Linked DNA regions of Homo sapiens: regions 1 and 2 are each linked to region 3. Evidence: promoter capture Hi-C in 16 types of primary human blood cells and fetal thymus (Javierre and others, 2016). All regions are on one chromosome and are shown on one strand. The core of a region is centred on a gene start or on the middle of the fragment in contact, and the rest is flanking DNA. Distances in the headings are between cores, read along the strand shown.

What was found. The method cuts DNA at HindIII sites, captures the fragments that hold promoters and counts their contacts. A CHiCAGO score of 5 or more calls a contact.
Region 1: a fragment that was not itself captured here is called in contact with the fragment with the promoter of PROSER1 in region 3 in 1 of 17 cell types (naive CD8 T cells); the score reaches 5.6 in naive CD8 T cells.
Region 2: a fragment that was not itself captured here is called in contact with the fragment with the promoter of PROSER1 in region 3 in 1 of 17 cell types (total CD4 T cells); the score reaches 5.2 in total CD4 T cells.

Annotation. Positions count from the first base shown.
Region 1 is chr13:31,157,308-31,161,831 of GRCh38, forward strand. It overlaps HSPH1 (heat shock protein family H (Hsp110) member 1), which reads right to left. Exons shown (of 18, transcript NM_006644.4): 1 at 4,169-4,524; 2 at 1,499-1,556. The coding sequence starts at 4,275. Among named protein-coding and RNA genes, the nearest start is that of HSPH1, 2.3 kb to the right of the region's middle. RefSeq lists enhancers at 3,691-4,236, 4,237-4,524, 4,394-4,473. The HindIII fragment of the contact is 798 bases long and covers 2,852-3,649 here.
Region 2 is chr13:44,921,088-44,925,381 of GRCh38, forward strand. It overlaps LOC107984619 (a long non-coding RNA gene), which reads right to left and starts at 3,893. Exons shown (of 2, transcript XR_001749860.1): 1 at 2,420-3,893. The HindIII fragment of the contact is 3,548 bases long and covers 726-4,273 here.
Region 3 is chr13:39,034,666-39,039,338 of GRCh38, forward strand. PROSER1 (proline and serine rich 1) reads right to left here and starts at 3,424. Exons shown (of 13, transcript NM_025138.5): 1 at 2,533-3,424. The coding sequence starts at 2,577. NHLRC3 (NHL repeat containing 3) reads left to right here and starts at 3,791. Exons shown (of 7, transcript NM_001012754.4): 1 at 3,791-4,058; 2 at 4,471-4,623. The coding sequence starts at 3,975. RefSeq lists an enhancer at 1,653-1,762 and a silencer at 2,905-3,134. The HindIII fragment of the contact is 10,591 bases long and covers 1-4,673 here.

The DNA.
Region 1 (4,524 bases), core at 2,001-4,500, 7.9 Mb before region 3:
AAGTCCCACTATCCTTTTGAACATATTTTGAGTGTGCCTATTTCTCCTTTCCTTTTTCACCCCTTTTAGTTATCTCTCTCTTCCAATGTAACAAGGAAATAAAGTTAAATCCAACCTACATATTCAAAGGATTAGAAAACATGAAACCATTTTCTAATGAAAGCAGATTCATAAGTTTGATAAAGTGCCAATTTCTTATTAAACATAAGCATTTTAAGAGATGTTTTTGTTTTCAAATCTGACCTGATTTTTTAATAGGTCAGTACTAAATACATTCCATAATATATAATACAGTACTCAATCTAATCCAAAATTTTCTTTCTTAGCAATCTATTTTCTGTATTTAGAAAAATGTTTTTTATTTCAAAGAGCCTCTCAAAGAGCATTTCACGTATCTTTTACTGTTTTTCTCTCCACCTCCAAGGGGTCTGTCTAGATCAGTGCTGTTCAACAGAATTATATGTAAGTCATAAAGGAGAGCTACCTACATAAAATTTTGTAGCAGCCACGTTAAAAACTGGTAAGAGATTAGATTAATTTCAATTAACTTAGGCCAATATATTTTAGGAACTATCACTTCAATAAGTAGTCAACAGAAAAAAATTGATCAGATACCGTACTTTACTTTTCAATTCGATTAAAAAGTAAAAAATCTCATGTGTATTTTATACTTCACATTTTGATTCAGACGAGCCACATTTCAAATGCTCAATACAGTACATGGCTACCATATTTTTTAAACAGCACAGGTCTGGACAAAAATTTCTCCCAGTCCTACCTTAATTACTAAGTAACCTGAAAATGCTTTTAAACACATAATTTCTTAGAAGTTCCTTCTATAAAAGGAATCTCTTAAATGAGTATCACGAGAAACTTCACAAGAACTTAAAATGCCTTGTTTATAATTTCTAAAAATTAGATAAATGAAAGGCAGCAAAAAGTTACTAAAAGTTAAAGTCAGCAGGCCAGGCGTAGGCTCACACCTGTAATCCCAGCACTTTGGGAGGCTGAGACAGATGGATCACGAGCTCAGGAGTTCGAGATCAGTCTGACCAACATGGTGAAACCCCATCTCCACTAAAAATACAAAAACTAGCTGGGCGTGGTGACACGCGCCTGTAATCCCACCTACTCAGGAGGCTGAGGCAGGAGAATCGCTTTAACCCGGGAGGCGGAGGTTGCAGTGAGCCGAGATCGCGCCACTGCACTCTAGCCTGGGTAACAGAGCGAGACTCTATCTCAAAAAAAAAAAAAAAAAAAAAAAAAGTTAAGGATGGCAGATTAGAAAGTTAAAGTCGATCTTAATAAAACAAGGGAAAGGGAACAGAAAGGAAAGAGTGTCATCATCTGAAGGTTCATAAAGAATACTTGAATTACATTTTTAAAACTCAAAAATACATAAACTTAGGCACACTTTACCCTCTTATATGTCTCTTGAGATTTTCCTTTTAAAAACTCCCCCCTTAAAAAGTGATCCGAATTCTCTTAAAGAACATACCTGATTTTTGGCTGCAACTCCGATTGTTCTATTTTTTGATCCAAATGATATGACTGACCTAGAAAAAAATATATTCCAAAAAATTAAAAAGCATAAAGGTTGATATTTTAAACTGATAAGAGAAAAATACTAACATAAATGTCCTACCCATTAGGGGATAGGGAACAAGCATAGCACAATTTTAAGGTCTATAGCTTTCATCAGATACTCAAAGGGGGCTTCCACTTAATTGCTGCTCTGAGATCCAACCTAGGTGGCAGTTCTACTACCCCAAAAACCTCTGCTCGTGGCTCAGGAATTCTCCAGGTTCCAGTTATTATGAACCGAACATTAACTTTGAAAATGTTTTAAATATGTTAACGGTATTATTAATTTGACCCTACACACGACTAACAAAAAATAGGATGTGACTCTACCTTTCAGTCACCAACTCTGTACAAATCTAAATGTCATTGTCATACCGACTTTTGTTCTGATATACCACCGGCTTCTTTAGGAATCAAAAGTTTTTATGCAAACGCAAGCAAATGAACCCAAGTTACACCTCTGAAGTTTAAAGAGCACAAAGAGGTTCCCATCTGGGAGATTCTGCCGGAGAAAGAAAAAAATGATGCACAACAAGTACCATGGCAAAACAGAATATAAATGTCGAGGGAAAGGAGTGACTAATCAGTTACATCAAATCTGTTTTGAAGAGATGGAAAGTGACTTACAACTGTGAAACAACCTTCTCAGCCACCATGGAAATGGAACCGCACAATAACAGAGCAGAGACTAGCTTAAAAAGTCTTGTGAGAAGAAGGTAAGTGAATTAGGTTTTGGATTAGAGGAGTTATCTAATTCTGGATTACTAATTCAAATATAATCTAATTTTGGGTGAGTTACTCCTACCTGCTTAGGTATGAGTAATGGTAAACGAGATGAGCAAAACGGGAAAATACTGAGGGCATTAAGTACCACCCTTAAGTTTAAATTTGCTATAATAGAAACATCCTCAAACTATATTATCTGAGCAAGTGTTAAATAAAATAGCATCCTAAAAGCCAGAGAAGTGTCCAAGCAGAAGCTAGACAAGAAACCGTCAAAATCAGAGCATCACTGTAAGCTCTGAATAACCATACACTTGCAGAATGGATCTACTCATTTTCCTAGGGGAGAATCAAATTAATTGTACTAAATAACAATTAGTAGCTGATACAATAGAATCCACCACAATTATAGTTTAACAAACATATTAAGGGGAACTCCAATACTGCCCTCAGTTCACATTTTTCAGGGCCATACCTGTTGTCTTTGATTTCACACAGTAGTCCCTGTATAACACAATTTTTTTTCCCACTCTCTTCTCTGAAAAGCTTTTCTTTGTTTTATTGGATCAACCAGAACAAAGTATAAACTGTATCTAGGCATGAAAGCCTGAAATACTGTTTTCTTTCTTACTAAACTCCAATTAAAAAAACCTTAACCAAAACACAAACTTAGATCTGCAGGGGTAGACGTACAGGTTGCTCAGAACAGTCTTCCTAACGTTACTAACATTGCCAAATATTTTGCCTCAGATTTTCCACTCAACTTTCATAAACGTTCTCAGCACCCAAATAATTGTATTACCCCAGTCATTCATTCTACCTTTAGGTTCAATGTTTTCATTTTGCACTTTTCATCCTGAGCTTGGGACATTTGAAAAAAATTAATAGGTACAGTATTTTCCTTGAGATGAAATCATTTGTTTTCATCAATGCACATGCAGATATGTTTGTATATATTCTCGTCCGAAAATATCCCTTCACGAAACTTGCTTTTTAAAATGTTGCCCTTTGCCCACCCTATGCTCCTATAGAATATTTAGTTCAGTGACGACATCCATCCTCTTTTGGCGTCCTAGCACAAAAGTATGCAATTTTTATTCTCTTTTAAATAAACTGTGCAAAATTAATTTTAAAAATACGGTTTACAATTCCTCATGAATGGCAAAGAGCAAAAAAAAAGACGTTTACATCTTTCGACAATGATCCCGGGCATTAAGGCCAACAATGTTAGCAACGAAGAGACTGGGTAAAAAGAGGTGGGCTAATCTTTCATAGGACTGCTTCCGTGGTCGCTAACAACAATCCGCCTGCTCACTGGACAAGCAGCGACACAAGCTCTGGAAGCTTCCAGTTCATTTCGAGATTCACAATGCGGAAGAAAAAGGCCGGCAGCCCCGCTCCGCGGTGCGCAAAGATATGCGCGAAGGGAGGAGGACAAGCTGGAGGCGGCTCAGCCAGCTCAGAGAGGCCGGGTGGGGATACGGGGGCGGCCGCGGAAGGCGCAGGCTGCAGCCTGCCAAGAAAAGGGAGCGAAGTTGCGGGCTTTGCCGCAGCCCGACCCCCAGTAGGTTTTGAAAACCCCCAATAGGAAGCCCGCACAAGGTGACGACCCTTAGAGTCTCGACTCTGGGACTCCTCTCACCCCCGTGAATCCCTGAGACAATCCCTTCTCCAATTTGTGATGGCAAGCCCCCCATCCCTCCTCTGGCCGGGTCGCTGGTCCCTAGTTCCACGGAGGGGTGCGCCGCTGCCCAAACGCCTCCGTTTGCCGCGGTGATCCGTACAGCCAGCCCGCGATCTTGGGTCCCCACACTAAGGGCCCAGAACCTCCTCCCATCCACCCTCGCAGACTCCCACTTACGGGGTGCACCGGTCGCTGAACTCATTGGCGATGGTCTCGATGCCCCCGGCCCGGGCTACCGCGATGTAGCAGCTCTGCGAGCCCACGTCCAACCCCACCACCGACATGGCCGGCTCGCGGTCCGCCTCCGCCTCGGGTCTCGGTCTGCGTCCTCCGGCCCCCTGCCTGCTTCTCCTGCCGCCGCTTTCTGCCCTGGCCGCGTTCTGCTCCGGCCCGCGGGGTCTGGCCGTTCCTCTGACACTCAGAAGGACACACAGACAGCCGCGGCCTGTCAGGAGCCTCCTACTCCCCCGGGGACAGCGGCGGCTGGCTGATAAGAAACCCTGGGAGAAAGCGGGGCTCAGCCTCCGCAGGTC
Region 2 (4,294 bases), core at 1,250-3,749, 5.9 Mb after region 3:
ATGTCAGCTTCCAGCTCTCTGGGCCTAAACTTGTTTTAGGGCTGACTCCTTTTCTCAGTGGTACTCTGTGGGTTTCTCAAAGGCTTCCCTGGGCCTCTTGGACAGGGCCTCACAGAAGGGGGTAGCAGTGTTTGCCCCGTGTGGGCCTCAGATCACTGGTATTAGGATCGTCAGTGGCTTTTTTCACCTGCAGATTCCCAGCCCCACCCACCCAGGACTTACAAATGAGAATCTGAATTTTCACAAGGACTTCCCCCTCCAAATGATTCTGATGCCAGTAGAGTTTGAGCAACAATGAACCACACGACAATAAATCCCCTTCAGTCGCTAAAAGCCCATGATCCCTGAAGCACAGTTTCTATCATTTCCTGTTCCTGCTCAAAAGCCTGGAAAAATGGCATCTCGTTGCTTGTTGAGTAAAATCTAAATTCTCTGGGCAAGCTTTCCAGGCTCTCCATAATCCAGCCCTGACATAGCCTGCTAATACTATCCCGCCGCAGCCCTCTTCAGAGGGGCCACATTCCAGATCACCCGACCTGCTCTGTCCTTCCCGTTCCTTTGTTCCACCTTGCTCCACACCACCCTCCCACTCTTCTTTCCAAGCCCGACCTCAATCCCAAGGCCAGCTCAGCCTTTGAAGTCACCTCAGGTCCTCTTGTTCACAAGGCACTCCCTCCCGCTTCCTCTGAATCCCAAAGCACAGACCTTTAAAAAATGGTGATATAAGCTTACGTCTTGCCACCCTTATTATTTCAGTTATTTAGTAGGAAAGTCCATGAATAAAAATCAGATTTTGTAATCCCCCTGGGAACCCAGTCCTGCACTCAATCATTCTGTCACATAGTCCTTCCTTTTATCTAACTTAAATACTTCCTGCTGTACTTCTATATGAAAGCTGCCACCTTTTAACCACCAGCAGGAACAAAATGTTCCTGGGAGGAGGAAAAAAAAAAAAAAAACATGAATTTTTGAAGTTTGGCCAGACCAGTAAGTGAGCTGCATTTCTTTAGTTCCACACACACAAAAAAAAAGCCTTCTTGTTGACACAAGAAACAGTTATTCCTGTTCCCATGCATCTAGGTCTGATTTTCAGTGGGCAACTGTCCCATTTTATCCACCATTTGATACTGGAAAAAAGCCCCAAACACATTGTACTTGCCAGGCATCTCCATTAGCCAAAGCAATCTGGGGTGTGATTCAGGCTTGTGTTTGCCAGTCATTTAGGAGTTAGAATGGTTTCCACTTTAGTAGGCCCAGGAGTCATGCTTTATAAGGCCATCACAAATAAGCACCAATTAAATTCCACTCTCCCAAGAACAGCTCTGGCCAGCACAAACTCAGCCTATGGCACAAGGTTAAACCTCAAAGCTCTCTTGAGTAACAGCACCTGCCCCTGCTGACCAGTGTGAATTAATCTTCATGGCCTAACACTAGGTTCAGTTTCTAAAATAGGGTTTGATCTCAGGAGGCCACTGGAATGACAGAGCTTCCTCGAGGGCTTGTTTAGATCATAGAATTCTGCCCCTCCCCTCTGTGCCAAATCTAGCAACTCCTACTTGTTCTGTGACTCAGGGCAAACATCCTTGAACGCTCAGTGCTGGGTGAGGTGCTCATTCTGGATTATCATTAGGTTGGATGGAGTTCCCTGTTTCCCTTCCTGTGGTAGACAGTAAGCTCCCTCATGGCAGAGTCTGGGTCTTACTCTGTTGTATTCCCAGCTTCCAGCACAGTGCTTGGCACACATAATGACTTAATGAATCAGCATTTTAATATAGTAACAATTTAATTCTCACAATGGCCCAATGAGATAGGTACCAATATTCTTCCCATTTTACAAATTAGAAAACAGAAACATAGGCGATTAAGTAAGTTACAGAAGCAGGATTCAAATCCAGGCATTTCATCTGGGCATAATTACTTAATTAATCTTTTTTTAATATATATATTTTTTTCATGTAAGACTTCCTGCACCAACTTAATGAGTCTCTTAAAATATCTTGGTTTCTTTGGGGATCCTCCTATAAAAGTAACTTTTCCCCTTAAATCAGCATATAACAAGAGAGAACTATTCCTCAGCTAGGTGAAAATATCTCCACAGCATCTTTCTTTACACATCATCAGCACTCAGTGCATGTTTGCATGATTGATCGCTTGCTTCATTCATTCATCCAATAATGAATCAGTCCATCTCAGAGAAATAGTCTTGGTTTCTACCTAGCACCGAAGTGGCAAAGCAAACTAATTGAGAGTCTCAGAAGGCCATAATTTTAATATTTAAGTAACAACAACAAAGAACAAGAAACTACATCCCTGTCTCCTAATATCGCTGGCACACACTCTCTTTCTTCCCCTACCTTCCCTTCACCTGATCTGATAGCCCAAGACAGGAAGAGCTTCACCAGCCCATCATCATACTCACCCTCATTTGTGTGCTCCTACCAGGGCTCAGACCTGGTTTTTCTTCAAGAACACACTTAGGAATTGTGAGTCCAAGCACTTCATGGCCTGACATCCGGAAAACTTGCCCACCATTGTAGGTTCTTGTTCCATGTTGCCGTTGCTCAAATATTGAAATTATGGCCCGCCGAGACCCTCAGTTAATTTGCTTTGCTCCTGAGGTGCTAGGTAGAAATCAAGTTGGACCTTGTATTGGAGGTTAAAGGTATTTCTGGTTTATTTCTGGACTTCTCAGCAGTAGTTCAGAGTGGAGTGAGCTTTCTAAACTCATTTTCTTCTTTCCTCGTGAGATGATCTATCTCAATAATCTTCAATAGGTCCATGGCCAGGGATTATGCCAAGTTTAATGTTCATCATGACTACCCGATATATATTTGACAGTGCTTGATATAAAAACAATAGCTATCACATATAGGATTCACTATGTGCCAGATAATTCTAAACACTTCAATAATTAACAATTTAATTCTCACACTGACCCAATGAGATAGGTACCAATATTATTCCCATTTTACAGATTAGAAAACTGAAACATAGGGAGGTTAAGTAACTTGCCCAAAGTCTGACAACTTATAAATAGTAGATGCGGGATTCAAACCCAGGCATTTCATCTCTGGAGTCTTAATGTATTTTCATATACCTTAATAAATCTACCCCTACTATTATAAGCATATTGCATAAAACAGGGCACTGTCATAAATAATCATAATGATAATGCCTTCAGCAACAATGGCAGCATACATTCTGAAGCCTGATGGCATCTTCAAAGGAGAATGAGGAAGAGGTTATGGGATCTTCTTAAACCAATAAAAATAAACATTTTGTGATCTAAGACTTCATAGATGCTAACATTGGAACGGAGAAGATGTCTGTCCCTGGTCCCTTCTTCCCTCCTCATCTATCCATTTTCAGAAATAGGGGCTGTTCAAAAATAAACTAATGTTTCTCTCTCTCAACCCAGTCTAGAGACAGAAATCTCATCAATTCCCCCTGCAACCTCTACTCAGATAGAGCTTCACTATTGTTCACTGATTGGTTAATTGATTGGTTCATGCAATCAACAAACCAGGCTAGAAGATTCATGAGGCATAAAACATCCTATCCCTCTAAAGCTGCAACCTTCTTGGCATCTACACATGGGCAATTAATGAGGACCTCAGGATTCACATAGCTAAAGCTGAGCTCCTGAGAGTCCATCCCCAACCGCACTCCCCAGCCAGCTCCCTCTGCATCTTCTCCATTCCAGTTAATAGCAGCTTTATTCTCCCCATTGTTCCAAGCCAGAACCCTGGAATCACCCTGGATTCCATTCTCTCTCAGCCTACCTCCAACCCCTCAGAAAATCCTACTGGCTCCATCATGAAAATAGACCCAGAATTGGATCACTTCTCCCATTCCCCTGGTCTGAGCCACCATCCTCTCTCACCTGGGTTAGACTGTGCGCCACCTCCCCACCTCTGCAGCCTATTCTCAACAAGGCAAGCAGAAGGAATCTTAAAACAAATCAGCTCATGCCACTTCTCAAAATCTTCCAGTGGCTTTCCATCTCACTCAGAATAAAAACCAAAATCCTGACTATAATCTACAAGGTCCTGCATGACAACCACCCCCTCCCATTCATTCTCCTCCCTCCCCATGCACCGAGGCTCCACTTGCCATTCTTCTAATCCTCTAGCTATGTCCTCACCTCAAGGCCTTTGCACTTGTGTGGGGAGGAAAGAGCTTTCCAGCCACCTGCATGGCTTGCTCCCTCACCTTCCCCAGGTCCTTTAGAAATTATCTTCTCAATGAGATCTTCTCTGTTTACCCTATCTGAAGCTTCAGCAAATGTCCTGCA
Region 3 (4,673 bases), core at 2,174-4,673:
TATTTCTATAGGGACATAAGAATGCAAGAAGTCCTGAATTCAATGTCTGTGCCTGCCACTAACTGGCAGTGTAGACTTTGAGAGGCATTTTAATTCCTTTTGAGCGTCCTCATTCATAGAGGGAACACCATTCACCAACCTCAAAGAATTACTATGAAGACTATAATAGTGGACATTAGATGTGACATATAACAGGTATTCAGTAAGTGATGGTTCCTTTCCTTTTCGGAATCTATCAGTGGGTGAGAGAGAAGTTGGTGGCTTTGATGCAGCACTATCTAGAGCCCACTAAATCACACATGCTCCCCTTGCAGCTATTTGCTCAGCTTAGAGATGGAAACAGCTATCTTAAGTCAGTAGCCACTAATCATTAAAAATGAACTAATCCCTTTGCTTGTACTATAAAATAATTTTAATATTCATATTTTTCACATATATCATTCTGCTAGGAGAAAGTATTATGACCAGTCAACTGAAATATCCTGGGTGCTCAGTAGTTCAATATTCACTGAAAAGGGAGAAAATGGCATTCTAAATAATGTATTCCTAGGAGTTTTATTATCAATGTAATAATCGGACACAGTCAAATACAAGTTTCTGAACAAAGTCTTGGATTGTACTGATGCCAAGTCATATCTCAATTCTTCCATCAATGCCTGAGAGGCCCAGCTGTAACCCCAGGCAGGACAGCATGGTGCTCTGCAAGCATAGTTTGAATACTGCCCCCAGCCCCCAACTTACCACCTAGGGAGTCTTGAGCTGATAGTTAACCTCACAGAGAATAGGCCACCAGCTATAAGCAAGAAGTACAGTGCCTACACCTCATGCGTTGTAAGGAGAATCAAAACAAATAATGACTGGAGAAAGTGCTTAAAAACAGGCTCACAAAGTAAGTGCTCACTAATTAATAGCTATCATTCCCTCCTTTTTGAATAATCAGTTAACCATTGCTTTTTCCCCCTTTCTACTCCCTTTCCCAGTTCTTCTGCTAGTGGCTTCTTATATGCCTCTGTTTTAAATGACAGTAGTGACAATCAGTATTATCTATCATATAAACTCACTGTGATACTCAAGAGATGACCTGGTTTAAACTGACTTACATTTACAAAGAACGATTTTTAAGAAAATCAGTAGTAATGCTCATATTTAGATATGCCAATATTTTATTCCATTTTAATAGACCATGACAATGTTGATGTGTCTAATCACTCGGCAAAGCCAGCAGAAGATATATTTTAACTGCTGACCAGAAATACAGACTTAAGTTGCCATCTCATGTGAACAACACTTTCATATCTGGAAAATTTCCTATTCCCCTCTTTAGAATTTACTGTGACGTTTTTATGACACCAGGAAGAGAATATGCACACTGAGACCCTGTATCTTCCAAAAGTAAAAATCTGCTGGTCTACTTGGACTCACCAATTATTTTCTCATGAAAAGTAATTAAAAATCAGCCCAAGAACAAATTGTGACAAATTTCTAGGCATATAATTAGCAAACCAATATTTTATTTCAAAAATTAATTGGACACTTAGGTTTGCAAAAGCAGAACTTGTTCAAAAAAGAATGTTCAGTATTATCAAATATGAAAACTTAAACACGTCAATTTGAAAAAAGAAAAAAGCTGTATAAAAACAAAGCAAAACAGCAAGACCAGAGACAATTTTAATAATAGCTTTGTAAACTGAAATAAGCACCAGAGCACATGGCAACAATTTCTTCCGTTTCAGTCAAGGGTCGTAAAGGTATGCAGCTGACGAAAGAATAATTGCCCGGAAGGCCGAAGGAAAGCACCGTGTGTTGATGTAACAATGGTACATCAAGTCCTTACATTTTAAAATAAGTAACTTCTCGGTATTTTTGTGCTTGAGATATTGTTAGGCTCAAGACTACCTTCCAGAATTGTTGCTGTCTGGTTCACTCTGGGAAATGCGATCCACACAACAGCCTCAAAAAGCAGCAAAAACTTGGAAAGCAGGAGAAAAAAGTTTTGAAGCTCAAGTTATTGACGGCCAATTCCTAAGAACGTGACTTTAAACTTAATGCCACACTTACCATCAGGACACGAATTTTGCATGGCCAACGCAACAAATATACTCTACCTTATGCTTAGATTTGAAAACCCCATCATAATAACTACCATAAAAGAAACTTTCTGCGTATTACCTCTCGTTTTCAGTCACTCTTGTGTTACTGAAAGATGAGGCAATAAACTCAAAAATATTAAACCCCTTACCCAAAAAGTACAGAGCTATTACGGATTTGTAAAGCCGGCTTTGGAACCGAGGGCTTTACAAATGTAATTCCCACGACACCGTGCTGAGTCTCAAATTTGGCGTTAACGTAACTTAATTTCTATTTGTACTGGAAACGTATCAAGATATAAACTCCTCCATTACACGTGAAAATTCAAACCAATTTGGCAATCCTAGGACCCTTATTCTGCACAATCTCCATACAGTACCTCAAAGAGAGTCTAAAACACGAGAATTCATCTCATAAAATAATTCATGGAATCGGTCTAATTACCTTTCTAATTTCATCCAGCACCATTTCAAAGGACTTTTTATCCATCTTGACTACTATCCCGACGTGGTTTTAACAGTTATACTTGCAATTAAAAGACGTTCATCCCTGGTCTGCTCCGCCGATAGTAAAAAATATTTATAGCTGAGGAGGAAAAAGACTCCACGAGCAAGAGAGGATGCGAAGAGGTAGAGAGTATTGCAAACTTCGCAAAAAAAATTTCTAAAAATTGAGATTCAGAAAAACTCTTTTTATTAAAAAGAAAAAACACTCCAGTCAGGCTTCCCCAGCTTATTCACACAATGGTTCAGGGCACCTCGGGCAAGAGCCAGGTCCTCTGAGTTTTGCAGAAAAACCCGGGCTCGGCGGCAGGTTTGAGTGCGGTTTCCCTGCAGCTGAGGGCCAGGTGCCGCCAGAGGTAGCTCTTGAAGGCGCTTTCCCAGGTGGAGCGGCCGGCAGAGTAGAAACACCTGCGCTCAGAGTCCACGGGCGGCGGGGAGGGAGGCGCCGGTCTCTCGACCCGCACCTGCGCCTCGGCCGCCGGCCGCGACCCTCACCGCCGCGAACCCGGACGCATGGTCCGGCTCGCGCTCATCCCCAGCCGCTCCGCCCGACTCCTGGATACCTCGGCCCCGGCAGCAGGCGGCCCGGCAGGCTCTTTGTTACCAGCTGCTGCAGCTTCCGGGAGCGGGCCGGCGGCTGGGGAGCACCAGGAGCCGGGCGAAGAGGGGCACGGCCTCGCATAGGGGGACTCCGGAAAAACGCAGCCCCAACAGCGCCAGACGCCCTGCCTGGTTACCCCTACAGCCCCCACCAGCTCATGGGGACCTACAATAAAGCCAGTCGCGCCCAAGTAAACTCAACACTGCGCCGCCAGCTTGGGCCCCTCTTTCCTGAAAGCCAGAGGTGGGGTCCTGGTGTGGGAATATAGGCATCCATAGCGGATGCCTGGATGGTAGGAATAGGATGTGGCAAAAATCCTTCCCGAAGCCTAGCGGTCATTATTTTGAATGTCATCCCCACCATACCTCGTGTCTGAGTGTGCGATGTTTTGATTTTGCCCTCTGGATTAAAAAGAATAAATGGCGAGCGATTAAGGCATATCTACGGGCGCCCATACTTTGGTGGCCACTGAAAGTCAGCGGCGCGGACTGCCCTGAGGGCGGGAAAGGGTGGTCACTGGGTCAGCCCGAAGCACCTGACATGAGGGCGGGGACCCCGAAATGCACACGAAGTCCGGAACTGGTCTTCTGTGATTTTCATTCGCCCTGGTCTCTGTTCCCTTTCGTACTCAAAGCTCGTGCATCCAGGGAGGGGAAACCGGAGATAGGGTCTTCGGGCCCCGGGCAGACCCTCTGTGCCGCTGCAAACCGTTGCAGCCTGAGGCTGTCAGGTCCTCCCCCAGACACCTGCGGACCCTCCCTCTCCTGGCTTCCCGTCTGGTCATGGCGAGATTCTGGGTCTGCGTAGCCGGTGCTGGCTTCTTTCTTGCATTTTTGGTTTTGCATTCGCGTTTTTGTGGCTCTCCAGTGAGTTGGGTAGTGAGGAAATGACTGTCGGGTGTGCGGGTAGCCCTGTTGGGAGGCGTCGCCACGGTCGTGGCATGGAGGTGGCAGGCCCTGGTTCCCTCAGTAGCTTGTCTCAAAGCCTGCACCTGGGTCCAAACTGCCTTGACCCTTTGAGTTTAAAAATTTGTGTATGTTACATCGCCATTTTCCTCTTTCCCAACTCTTACTACATCCTCAAATAATTTGCAGACTTGTATTGTGGTCGTGTTGGTCTTTAGGCATCTAAGCTCATTTCTTTGGAATTATTTCAGTCCAGCAAACTTCTAGTTGTCAAGGCATGCTTAAAAATAAGCCCTGTTACCCGGCCCCCCCGCCCTTTTTTTGTTCTTACCTAGACGGTAAACTAAATCTGAATTGTCTGATTTTGTTTAAGGTTTTGAGGAACTTTACTTTTGCAGTTTCCTGGAGAACTGAGAAAATTCTTTACCGGCTGGATGTGGGTTGGCCTAAGCACCCAGAATATTTTACCGGAACAACATTTTGTGTTGCAGTTGACTCCCTCAATGGATTGGTTTACATAGGTCAAGTAAGTAAATAGAGATTTAAAAAAATTATGAACACAAAGGAAGTAACAGC